Regions from separate parts of the Homo sapiens genome. Here all the other regions are linked to region 2. The links are contacts of gene promoters, found by promoter capture Hi-C in blood cells and fetal thymus (Javierre and others, 2016). All regions are on one chromosome and are shown on one strand. The core of a region is centred on a gene start or on the middle of the fragment in contact, and the rest is flanking DNA. Distances in the headings are between cores, read along the strand shown. Region 1 overlaps PCDHB13 (protocadherin beta 13). Region 2 holds the start of PCDHGB1 (protocadherin gamma subfamily B, 1). Region 3 holds the start of PCDHB5 (protocadherin beta 5). Region 4 holds the start of PCDHGC5 (protocadherin gamma subfamily C, 5).

What was found. Contacts are between HindIII fragments. The CHiCAGO score rates a contact against its expected background, and 5 or more counts as called.
Region 1: a contact is called between a fragment that was not itself captured here and the fragment with the promoter of PCDHGB1 in region 2, in 1 of 17 cell types (endothelial precursors). The highest score is 8.1, in endothelial precursors.
Region 3: the fragment with the promoter of PCDHB5 here is called in contact with the fragment with the promoter of PCDHGB1 in region 2 in 17 of 17 cell types (monocytes, neutrophils, erythroblasts and 14 more); the score reaches 26.4 in monocytes.
Region 4: a fragment that was not itself captured here is called in contact with the fragment with the promoter of PCDHGB1 in region 2 in 1 of 17 cell types (total CD8 T cells); the score reaches 5.1 in total CD8 T cells.

What each region holds. Positions count from the first base shown.
Region 1 is chr5:141,214,875-141,217,797 of GRCh38, forward strand. PCDHB13 (protocadherin beta 13) reads left to right here. Exons shown (of 1, transcript NM_018933.4): 1 at 1-2,923. The coding sequence ends at 1,646. It also overlaps PCDHB@. Among named protein-coding and RNA genes, the nearest start is that of PCDHB13, 2.4 kb to the left of the region's middle. RefSeq lists an enhancer at 622-1,150. The HindIII fragment of the contact is 2,415 bases long and covers 101-2,515 here.
Region 2 is chr5:141,348,438-141,351,348 of GRCh38, forward strand. It overlaps PCDHGB1 (protocadherin gamma subfamily B, 1), which reads left to right and starts at 1,662. Exons shown (of 4, transcript NM_018922.3): 1 at 1,662-2,911. The coding sequence starts at 1,824. All of the region lies in intron 1 of PCDHGA1 (protocadherin gamma subfamily A, 1), which reads left to right. All of the region lies in intron 1 of PCDHGA2 (protocadherin gamma subfamily A, 2), which reads left to right. All of the region lies in intron 1 of PCDHGA3 (protocadherin gamma subfamily A, 3), which reads left to right. It also overlaps PCDHG@. The HindIII fragment of the contact is 7,439 bases long and covers 1-2,911 here.
Region 3 is chr5:141,133,762-141,136,461 of GRCh38, forward strand. It overlaps PCDHB5 (protocadherin beta 5), which reads left to right and starts at 1,445. Exons shown (of 1, transcript NM_015669.5): 1 at 1,445-2,700. The coding sequence starts at 1,674. It also overlaps PCDHB@. The HindIII fragment of the contact is 16,081 bases long and covers 1-2,700 here.
Region 4 is chr5:141,487,261-141,490,261 of GRCh38, forward strand. The region is part of intron 1 of PCDHGA1 (protocadherin gamma subfamily A, 1); the gene reads left to right. The region is part of intron 1 of PCDHGA2 (protocadherin gamma subfamily A, 2); the gene reads left to right. All of the region lies in intron 1 of PCDHGA3 (protocadherin gamma subfamily A, 3), which reads left to right. All of the region lies in intron 1 of PCDHGB1 (protocadherin gamma subfamily B, 1), which reads left to right. It also overlaps PCDHGA4, PCDHGB2, PCDHGA5, PCDHGB3, PCDHGA6 and PCDHGA7, and 13 more genes. The HindIII fragment of the contact is 152 bases long and covers 1,465-1,616 here.

The sequences.
Region 1 (2,923 bases), core at 58-2,557, 130 kb before region 2:
AGATCTCTGAGGACAGTCCGGTAGGCTTCCTGGTTGTGAAGGTCTCTGCCACGGATGTAGACACAGGAGTCAACGGAGAGATTTCCTATTCACTTTTCCAAGCTTCAGAAGAGATTGGCAAAACCTTTAAGATCAATCCCTTGACAGGAGAAATTGAACTAAAAAAACAACTCGATTTCGAAAAACTTCAGTCCTATGAAGTCAATATTGAGGCAAGAGATGCTGGAACCTTTTCTGGAAAATGCACCGTTCTGATTCAAGTGATAGATGTGAACGACCATGCCCCAGAAGTTACCATGTCTGCATTTACCAGCCCAATACCTGAGAACGCGCCTGAAACTGTGGTTGCACTTTTCAGTGTTTCAGATCTTGATTCAGGAGAAAATGGGAAAATTAGTTGCTCCATTCAGGAGGATCTACCCTTCCTCCTGAAATCCGCGGAAAACTTTTACACCCTACTAACGGAGAGACCACTAGACAGAGAAAGCAGAGCGGAATACAACATCACTATCACTGTCACTGACTTGGGGACCCCTATGCTGATAACACAGCTCAATATGACCGTGCTGATCGCCGATGTCAATGACAACGCTCCCGCCTTCACCCAAACCTCCTACACCCTGTTCGTCCGCGAGAACAACAGCCCCGCCCTGCACATCCGCAGCGTCAGCGCTACAGACAGAGACTCAGGCACCAACGCCCAGGTCACCTACTCGCTGCTGCCGCCCCAGGACCCGCACCTGCCCCTCACATCCCTGGTCTCCATCAACGCGGACAACGGCCACCTGTTCGCCCTCAGGTCTCTGGACTACGAGGCCCTGCAGGGGTTCCAGTTCCGCGTGGGCGCTTCAGACCACGGCTCCCCGGCGCTGAGCAGCGAGGCGCTGGTGCGCGTGGTGGTGCTGGACGCCAACGACAACTCGCCCTTCGTGCTGTACCCGCTGCAGAACGGCTCCGCGCCCTGCACCGAGCTGGTGCCCCGGGCGGCCGAGCCGGGCTACCTGGTGACCAAGGTGGTGGCGGTGGACGGCGACTCGGGCCAGAACGCCTGGCTGTCGTACCAGCTGCTCAAGGCCACGGAGCTCGGTCTGTTCGGCGTGTGGGCGCACAATGGCGAGGTGCGCACCGCCAGGCTGCTGAGCGAGCGCGACGCGGCCAAGCACAGGCTGGTGGTGCTGGTCAAGGACAATGGCGAGCCTCCGCGCTCGGCCACCGCCACGCTGCACGTGCTCCTGGTGGACGGCTTCTCCCAGCCCTACCTGCCTCTCCCGGAGGCGGCCCCGACCCAGGCCCAGGCCGACTTGCTCACCGTCTACCTGGTGGTGGCGTTGGCCTCGGTGTCTTCGCTCTTCCTCTTTTCGGTGCTCCTGTTCGTGGCGGTGCGGCTGTGTAGGAGGAGCAGGGCGGCCTCGGTGGGTCGCTGCTTGGTGCCCGAGGGCCCCCTTCCAGGGCATCTTGTGGACATGAGCGGCACCAGGACCCTATCCCAGAGCTACCAGTATGAGGTGTGTCTGGCAGGAGGCTCAGGGACCAATGAGTTCAAGTTCCTGAAGCCGATTATCCCCAACTTCCCTCCCCAGTGCCCTGGGAAAGAAATACAAGGAAATTCTACCTTCCCCAATAACTTTGGGTTCAATATTCAGTGACCATAGTTGACTTTTACATTCCATAGGTATTTTATTTTGTGGCATTTCCATGCCAATGTTTATTTCCCCCAATTTGTGTGTATGTAATATTGTACGGATTTACTCTTGATTTTTCTCATGTTCTTTCTCCCTTTGTTTTAAAGTGAACATTTACCTTTATTCCTGGTTCTTAAAAGGTGACAATTCATTCTTTAACCCAGATGGTCTTAATTTGTAATTAATTTGCCTCCCTAAAGAGCAATACCAAATCACATTTTTTTCATGCCCCTATCTTTAGCTGAACTTCACCCACTATTATGCTTATGGTAAAATTAAATAGAGCAATTTGGAAGTGATTCCAATTTTCCAGCATTTCTTCATTTGATTCTCTTTTTTTAGTCTTAAAATAATGACTCCTATTCAGACATATCATTTTTCTTTTTTGTAAATCCAGTGCGTTTTTAGTTAACCTTTAAATATGCTTTTTGCTTTCAAAAATAAACCAGAAAACCTATATCCTATGATACAACTCTAAGTGTTATCACTTGATTCGAAAGGGTCAGAAGACCAGTTTTTTAGTATCCTTTCCTCATTCATCCTGGAGAGGATTGTGCAGGCACATTAATATTGTGACCAATCACAGAATCTGGGAATATGAAGCTATAATTTTTTAATTAATGTCACAAAGCTCTAGTGCAATCTAGTTGAATGCAGATGCCTGTGCCCAAATAATAATTCATATAGCATAAATTGGAGTTGTGTGTTAATGTGTAAAAATTTTTGCCTGTACTATCATATAATTTAATGTATATACACCAGAAACTATTTTTCAAACTTTTTTTACTGCAACCAATAGTTAAGATTATATTTTACATATTTTGAAACACACAAGCTTAATAGAAATAAATGCTTGTGAACAATGCTTAGTCTTTTTATGACATAATTTGAAATTACCTATATATTTCATTCTATTCAATTTTCAAATGTGGTCATGATCCACTAAATTTATTTCATGGTATACTAGTGGGTAGTAACCCAAAGTTTGAAAACCACTTTTCTCAGACATATAAAAGCATACCAGATGTTGAACATTGATAGTATCAAAAGATAGTCCCTTAGGGTTCTAATTTTAAAAAAATTTTCAAAGCATTGTAGGGGAGTAGCTTTGTCTCATGTTAAATCACTCTTACCTTTAAGGATCTGACACACTATGTAAGAAAAAGACTTCAAGGTTGGAGGAGGAGATTTTCCATGACTTTTATCAAAGTCTACAGTCTATGTTGTGGGAGAAAAATGTA
Region 2 (2,911 bases), core at 412-2,911:
TTTAGAAAAAAAAATGTTTATAGTATTAGTATCACTTTCCCTGTAAGGAGAAAAAAAATTAATTAGCTGTGTCAGGGGAAATTTGGATGCTCAAAGATAATTTCTAAGAATTCTATATGAAACATAGCCTACATATGTGTCATGAAAATACACTGAGAGTATGGAACCCATACAATTCCACCTACTTGTACAGGTAATGGAAGGTCTCAGACATCCCATTTTCACTAAAAAGGATTTATTTTTATTTTTTTGAAGAATGGGCAAGAATCCACTACAACAGAAAGGGAGGAGAAGTTCATAGTAAAAGGAATGGAAAGTATAAAGGCATGATGCAAGGAAACAAGTGAAAAGGTATCTTAAGAAAACAGATAATAGGCTGTTTCGAATAGAGTATGAGTATGGGTGAGCACTGCAAAATAGTAGAATAAATTGTTGAGTTGGATCTCATTTGGTAATGCATTTGAAATAAAGGGATTTGCTTTGAACCAAGACTGGTTCTAAGCCTGGAACTACAGAATAAGTTCCAAAATTGGGTGTCTAAGAACTCTGAATACCTCTCCAATATTTACCAGTGGTCAAGTCAAACTCGTTTTGCTCATTAATGGTATAAGTCGGCTGGAGCTGAGAATTGGCATTATAGAGAATGTTTTTGAGACAGAGTCTTGCTCTGTCACCCAGGATGGACTTCAGTGGCATGATCTCAACTCACTGCAACCTCTGCCTCCTGAGTTAAGTGATTCTGCTGCCTCAACCTCCCGAGTAGCTGGCGTTACAGGTACCCGCCACCATGCCTGGATAATTTTTATTTTTTTTAGTAGAGATGGCTTGCACCATGTTGGACAGGCTAGTCTCAAACTCCTGACCTCATGTGTTCTTCCCACCTTGGCCTCCCAAAGTGCTGGGATCACAGGTCACTGCACCCAGCCTAGAGTATTTAATATACATTCATATAAAAAAGAAGCACTGGTTTCATAAAACAAATGTACATTATATGAGATTCCACTTCATAAAAGCATGTATGTGTACCCCAACACTAAATTGGCCCTTTTAACAAAATATCAGACTTTGTCCTACTTAACTGGAAAGATTATCTATATTTTATAAAGAAGAGAAATAACATAATAGTAAGGCTGTGATTTCCTCTTTTTTGCAAAAACTATTTTTGAAAAGTATTACTGAATTGATAACATATATATGGAGAGATTTAAAATACTAGATAAGGGAGCTTATTCCAATGAATTTACAGAAAGGTAGGTATTTTAGTCAACTAAAAATATAAATAAAAATTATCAATTCACTTATTTGGATACAGCAGTCATGCCAGAGTTTATAAATATAGTGAAATCACTGAAGATTTTTTTTTACCCCCAAAACTGAAAAAAATGGCAGTGTACCTTGTGAATTTTTTAAATGAAAAAAGAATACGAAATGATGAAGGCCCTTATCTGATGATGACAAACTAGAAAACTGAAATGTAAAGGGGAAAATGTGAGTATGTGTTTCCCTCCAGCAAATTAAAGACAGGGTACATAGATTCAAGAGGTTGCGCTTTGAGGATAAAAAGCTGGGCCCTGTGCAGTTTTCCAAGACAACCTCTGGGCGCCGCTGTCGACCAAAAGGAAGTGAAGGCTTCTCAATTCTGCAGGAGCGTCAGGCAGGGTGCCTTCCTGCTTTGTCCGGTGCACTGAGCACAGACGCTGCTCCTGTTCACCCTCGAGCGCCTAACTAATAAGTCCTAAGCTCAAATCACAGAAGTCCAGGGTGCTGCCATTTCTTTTTGAAAAACATCCCAGAGGAAAGAAGCTCCGCGGAGAGTTCCTGAAATGCAGAGAGCCAGAGAAGCCGAAATGATGAAAAGTCAGGTACTGTTTCCCTTCCTGCTGTCTTTGTTCTGCGGGGCCATCTCCCAGCAGATCCGATACACGATTCCAGAGGAGCTAGCCAACGGCTCACGGGTGGGGAAACTTGCCAAGGATCTGGGGCTCAGTGTCCGGGAGTTGCCAACTCGAAAACTGCGGGTTAGTGCAGAGGATTATTTCAACGTTAGTTTGGAGAGCGGGGATTTGTTAGTGAACGGTAGGATAGATCGAGAGAAGATTTGCGGAAGGAAACTTGAGTGTGCACTAGAATTCGAAACGGTCGCTGAAAACCCAATGAATGTTTTCCACGTGGTTGTTGTAATCCAAGATATTAATGACAATGCACCACGTTTCGTTGCAAAAGGCATTGACTTAGAAATTTGTGAGTCAGCCTTACCCGGGGTAAAATTCTCTCTGGATTCTGCTCAAGATGCAGATGTGGAAGGCAATTCACTGAAGTTATACACCATCAACCCCAATCAATACTTCTCTCTGTCAACGAAGGAAAGTCCTGATGGAAGTAAATATCCGGTATTACTGCTGGAAAAACCTCTAGACAGGGAACATCAGAGCTCTCATCGCTTAATCCTGACTGCCATGGATGGCGGGGACCCGCCTCTAAGCGGCACCACCCATATCTGGATCCGAGTTACGGATGCCAATGATAATGCTCCCGTGTTTAGCCAGGAGGTATACAGGGTTAGCCTCCAAGAAAACGTACCGTGGGGAACCTCCGTGCTGCGGGTGATGGCCACAGACCAGGATGAGGGCATTAATGCAGAGATCACCTATGCCTTCCTCAATTCCCCAATAAGTACCAGCCTCTTCAATCTCAATCCAAATACTGGCGACATCACAACCAATGGCACATTGGATTTTGAAGAGACAAGTAGATATGTGTTGAGTGTGGAAGCTAAGGATGGAGGAGTACACACAGCTCACTGTAATGTTCAAATAGAAATTGTTGACGAGAATGACAATGCCCCAGAGGTGACATTCATGTCCTTCTCTAACCAGATTCCAGAGGATTCAGACCTTGGAACTGTAATAGC
Region 3 (2,700 bases), core at 195-2,694, 210 kb before region 2:
GAAAAATGGAATAATTAATCTTTCAAAATACATCATACAAGAATATTTTCATGACCTTGGAGTATGTGAACATTTAAATAGAACACAAAAAAATGCTAATCATACATGAAACTTATTGACAAATCTGACTAAAGGTAAGAAATTTTATTCATCAAAGACACATAATAGACTTGAAATAAAAACCATAGAGTGGGAAAAGATATTTGCAATACATATATCTTAAAAAGGACTTATGCCCAGAATATATGAGAAACTTCTGCAGATCAATAAGCAAACAGGCAAATGCCTCCCCCCAAAAAAGTAAAAAGGTTTGCATAAGCCCTTCACAAGATTGTATCCTAATGGCTGATAAACATGAAAATGTGCTCAAATTGTTTAATCATCAGGGAAAATGCTAACTAAAATTACAATATCATATCACCATACACTAACCAGAGTGGTTTAAAATGGAAAAGATAGCATCAAATGTTGACAAGAATGTGGAGCAACTGGAACTCTCATACTTTGCTGGTATTAGTACGACTACTTGAGAAAACTTTCTCATTATCTGCTAAAGCAAAATATATGTGCACATCTTAATGCATAGCAATCCAACTCCTTTGAATATATTCAACATAAACACATATATGTGGTCACCAAAAGACTAGTACAAGGATGTTTATACCAGTACTACCCCAAAGAGCTTAAACCTGGAAAACAATGTTCATCAACTGGAGAATGAATAAATAAATCATAGTATATTCATACAACAGAATGATATAAAGCAATGAGAATAAAACAAATAAGAACAAGATGCCACAGATCAATTTGCTGAACATAATATTGAGGAGAAGAAGCCAGACACACGAGAGTAACAATCTATAACTCCATTTGTATAAAGTTAAAAAAAAAAAAAGCAAAAAAAACCTATGACAACAGAAGTCAGGACAGTGCTTATCTTTTGGGGAGAGGGTGGTAACCAGACAATAGCAGGTGGGGACTTGGGTTTGGGTAGTATTTTTAATCTAGGTTCTACTTACAGGAGTGTGTTCACTTTGCGAAAATTCATTGAGTTATACACCTATGATTTGTGCCATTTTCTGGGTGTTATTGGTGTTTACTTCAAAGTGAAAGTAATTTTTCTTAAACTTTAAATTTCTATAGATATTCCTGATCACTTATTTAATATAATCAAATAAGAAACACCAAACAAAGTGTATTTGTGTACTCAAGGGTACTTTTATGGAGATTAATATATAATTTTAGTTTTTTTCTCAAAAGTATTTTCTCACTGAAAATTAACTCCACAACATTTATTTAGAACTTTCAGCAACTAAGAGCTGGAGATACCATCGGGAGAGCTTATGTGACAAAAGGGTATGGATACACGTCAGTTAGAATTTAGGATGAAATGGCAAATACTATATGCAATAGTAAATTAGGACGCCTGGTGGCGCTGCAGGCTAAGAGTGTGGATAGTGGGCTCTGCGGATAACTCAGACGCCATTAAGCTGGGGAATCCAAACTCTAAAAGAAGGACGCATTTTAGGTAAGATCTAGTGGCTAGATCTTCAGGGTGGGCTTCGTTCTTGTGGAAATCAGTCAAGAAAGATCGGATTCGCGGTTATTTATGCAAATCATCTGGGTGGATTGTGTACGGAGTTAAACTGCGCCTTCTGGACCGGGTCTGAACAATGGAGACTGCGCTAGCAAAAACGCCACAGAAAAGGCAAGTTATGTTTCTTGCTATATTGTTGCTTTTGTGGGAGGCTGGCTCTGAGGCAGTTAGGTATTCCATACCAGAAGAAACAGAAAGTGGCTATTCTGTGGCCAACCTGGCAAAAGACCTGGGTCTTGGGGTGGGGGAACTGGCCACTCGGGGCGCGCGAATGCATTACAAAGGAAACAAAGAGCTCTTGCAGCTTGATATAAAGACCGGCAATTTGCTTCTATATGAAAAACTAGACCGGGAGGTGATGTGCGGGGCGACAGAACCCTGTATATTGCATTTCCAGCTCTTACTAGAAAATCCAGTGCAGTTTTTTCAAACTGATCTGCAGCTCACAGATATAAATGACCATGCCCCAGAGTTCCCAGAGAAGGAAATGCTCCTAAAAATCCCAGAGAGCACCCAGCCAGGGACTGTGTTTCCCTTAAAAATAGCCCAGGACTTTGACATAGGTAGCAACACTGTTCAGAACTACACAATCAGCCCAAATTCACACTTTCATGTTGCTACGCATAATCGCGGAGATGGCAGAAAATACCCAGAGCTGGTGCTGGACAAAGCGCTGGACCGGGAGGAGCGGCCTGAGCTCAGCTTAACACTCACTGCACTGGACGGTGGGGCTCCGCCCAGGTCCGGGACCACCACAATTCGCATTGTCGTCTTGGATAATAATGACAACGCCCCCGAATTTTTACAATCATTCTATGAGGTACAGGTGCCCGAGAACAGCCCCCTTAACTCCTTAGTTGTCGTTGTCTCCGCTCGAGATTTAGATGCAGGAGCATATGGGAGTGTAGCCTATGCTCTATTCCAAGGCGATGAAGTTACTCAACCATTTGTAATAGACGAGAAAACAGCAGAAATTCGCCTGAAAAGGGCATTGGATTTCGAGGCAACTCCATATTATAACGTGGAAATTGTAGCCACAGATGGTGGGGGCCTTTCAGGAAAATGCACTGTGGCTATAGAAGTGGTGGATGTGAATGACAACG
Region 4 (3,001 bases), core at 291-2,790, 140 kb after region 2:
CCTAGTGGCAATTTGCTTTGTCTCCTTTGGCTCATTCGTGGCACTACTCTCTAAGTGTCTTCGTGGGGCAGCCTGTGGAGTCACATGCTTTCCTGCTGGCACCTGTGCCTGTCTCACCAGATCTCGAAGGAGGGAGGGGCTTCCCCCTTCCAATGGGATCCTCCGAATCCAGCTAGGGTCAGATGACCCTATCAAGTTTGTTGATGTGGGAGGCCACTCTCATGGCTGTACACCCTTGGCTTCTGCACCCACTCGGAGTGATAGCTTCATGATGGTGAAGTCACCCAGTGCACCTATGGCAGGGGAGCCTGTTCGCCCAAGCTGCCCACCCTCTGATCTTCTCTATGGGCTAGAGGTGAGACCTTTGCAGGCTCAACAAATGCTTGAGGGTTATTCTGATCCAGGCATATGGCTAGGCCATGTCCTAGAGAGTACTGGCCTCTCAGTAAGTGCCCATAGTGATGTCACCATTTTTGTAAGAGGTAACTATGTGGTAGACGCTGTGCTTTGTAACTGTTTCGTGAATTAACCAGAGTTGTCACAGTTTAGCATTGGGGGCGGGTCATGCCTATATCTGAGTAAGAAATGAAAGTAATTGGTGATCAAGAGCCAGGCTGTTGTGGAAGCATGATGATGGAATGTGGGAGCACAGGAGGCTACAGTGCACAGGGTACAGTGCACCAGGCAGTCACTTGGACAAAGGTGGCTGTTTTCTCTACTCTTCCTGAAAGAGGGGATCAGATTCTGAAGTACCTTAACTCTAGGTTACCATTTCCCAAGGGATTGAGGGGAAATAAAATCTTTGTCTCCCAGTATCTAGTACACTGTGAAGGGACCTCTCTATTTGAAACATAGAGACAGCAGAAAGAGGAGAGAACTAAAGGAATAGAGAGGCACGCATCAGAGTGGTGGCATAGATCTTTTGGTCTGGGTCTTAGGACTCATATCAAGTCCCTACTGGGGATTTGAACTAGATGCGGTAAATTGGAAGGTTGGGGCGGGTTGGTCATCACCTTTGGAAAAAACAGTAAGTGAAATCACTTATGTCAGAAAACTGGTTTACAGTTGGCTGATTCATAGAAACAGCCACCCTGTGCATCTTTAAGTTGAGTTCTCCTGAATTTGGTGAAACCATGAAACCTAGAAGCCAAGCCATCCATGCTTGGCCTCTGACCACCCTCCTGGGTGACCTGATTCAGCCCCAGAAATGTTCCCCTACCCAAAAACTGTAACACTCATTCCACATTTGGGGTCTGGGGTGTCAGAAAAGCTAAGTCCCATGTCAGCTGACATTGAGATTTCCGCAAAGCATTGCTGGAGAGTCAGGGCAAGACTTTACAAGGTTCTTACTAATCTTTTCTCTCACCTTAGCAGCATTCAGCAGGATGGGGGAGGGTGGGGGAATACATGGGCTTTGCCTCTCCCAGAAGGACAAGATTTTGCTGGTTCAAGCAAAGTGGTGGAAGCTTCTGAAGTCATGCAGGAAGTTGCTGGGACAGAACGCTGAGGAGTTTTGTATCACTTTGTCTTCCCTGTTGAGTACCATCTGAGCTGTCAAACTTTGCTGCCAAGGGGGCTGAATCAACCTGCAGCACGAAGTGAGTGGGGAGGTAGGAAGCTTCTGTGACACAGATTTGCAGCCTGTGTTCCCAAGGTTTCCAGGATTGAGGAAACTCCATAATTGGTTGAGAGCACACAGACTTTTTGGCCAATCAGACTCAGAGCTGAGGTGGGAGATCTGCTCTTCCAGCCCGCCTCTCCTCCTCCAGCTCCCCAGCTCCACTCAAATTCAGCTCCCCTCCCCCCTGCCCACCCCCGCCACTCGGTGACTAAGAACTGCTGCAAGCAGGCAAACCTCCGAGCAGTTTTTAAGAGGCTGGAAGGAGACATAAGAGACTTCAGCTGCTGCATTCCAAGCCCTGGGTCTACCTTGGAGACAGGACAGCACAGACTTACTCTCCACAAAGGGACTTCTGGGTCATGGGGCCCAAGACACTCCCACAGCTCGCTGGGAAATGGCAAGTGCTGTGCATGTTGTCCTTGTGCTGCTGGGGCTGGGTGTCTGGGCAGCTTCGTTACTCAGTGGTGGAGGAGTCTGAGCCGGGGACGCTGGTGGGGAATGTTGCTCAGGATCTGGGCTTAAAGATGACAGATCTGTTGAGCCGGCGGCTGCAATTGGGCTCTGAGGAGAATGGGCGCTATTTTTCCCTGAGCTTGATGAGTGGTGCCCTGGCAGTGAATCAAAAGATTGACCGAGAAAGCCTATGTGGAGCCAGCACCAGCTGCCTGCTGCCAGTGCAGGTGGTGACTGAACACCCCCTGGAGCTAATCCGTGTAGAGGTAGAGATCCTGGATCTCAATGACAACTCTCCTAGCTTTGCCACCCCTGAGCGAGAGATGCGCATCTCAGAATCAGCAGCATCTGGGGCACGATTCCCACTGGACAGTGCCCAGGATCCGGATGTGGGCACCAATACTGTGAGCTTTTACACTCTAAGCCCCAACAGCCACTTCTCTCTGAATGTGAAGACCCTAAAAGATGGGAAGCCATTCCCAGAGCTGGTGCTAGAGCAGCAGCTGGATCGTGAAGCCCAGGCAAGACATCAGCTGGTGCTTACTGCTGTGGATGGGGGGACCCCAGCCCGCTCAGGGACCACCCTTATCTCTGTCATCGTGCTGGACATCAATGATAATGCTCCAACCTTCCAATCCTCAGTTCTACGTGTGGGAATCCCAGAGAATGCACCCATTGGTACTCTGCTGCTCCGCCTCAATGCCACTGATCCAGACGAGGGCACCAACGGCCAACTAGACTATTCTTTTGGAGACCACACATCTGAGGCAGTGCGGAACCTCTTTGGCCTAGACCCTAGCAGTGGGGCAATCCATGTGTTGGGTCCCATAGACTTTGAGGAGTCACGTTTCTATGAAATTCATGCAAGAGCCCGTGACCAGGGACAGCCTGCCATGGAGGGCCACTGTGTGATTCAAGTGGATGTGG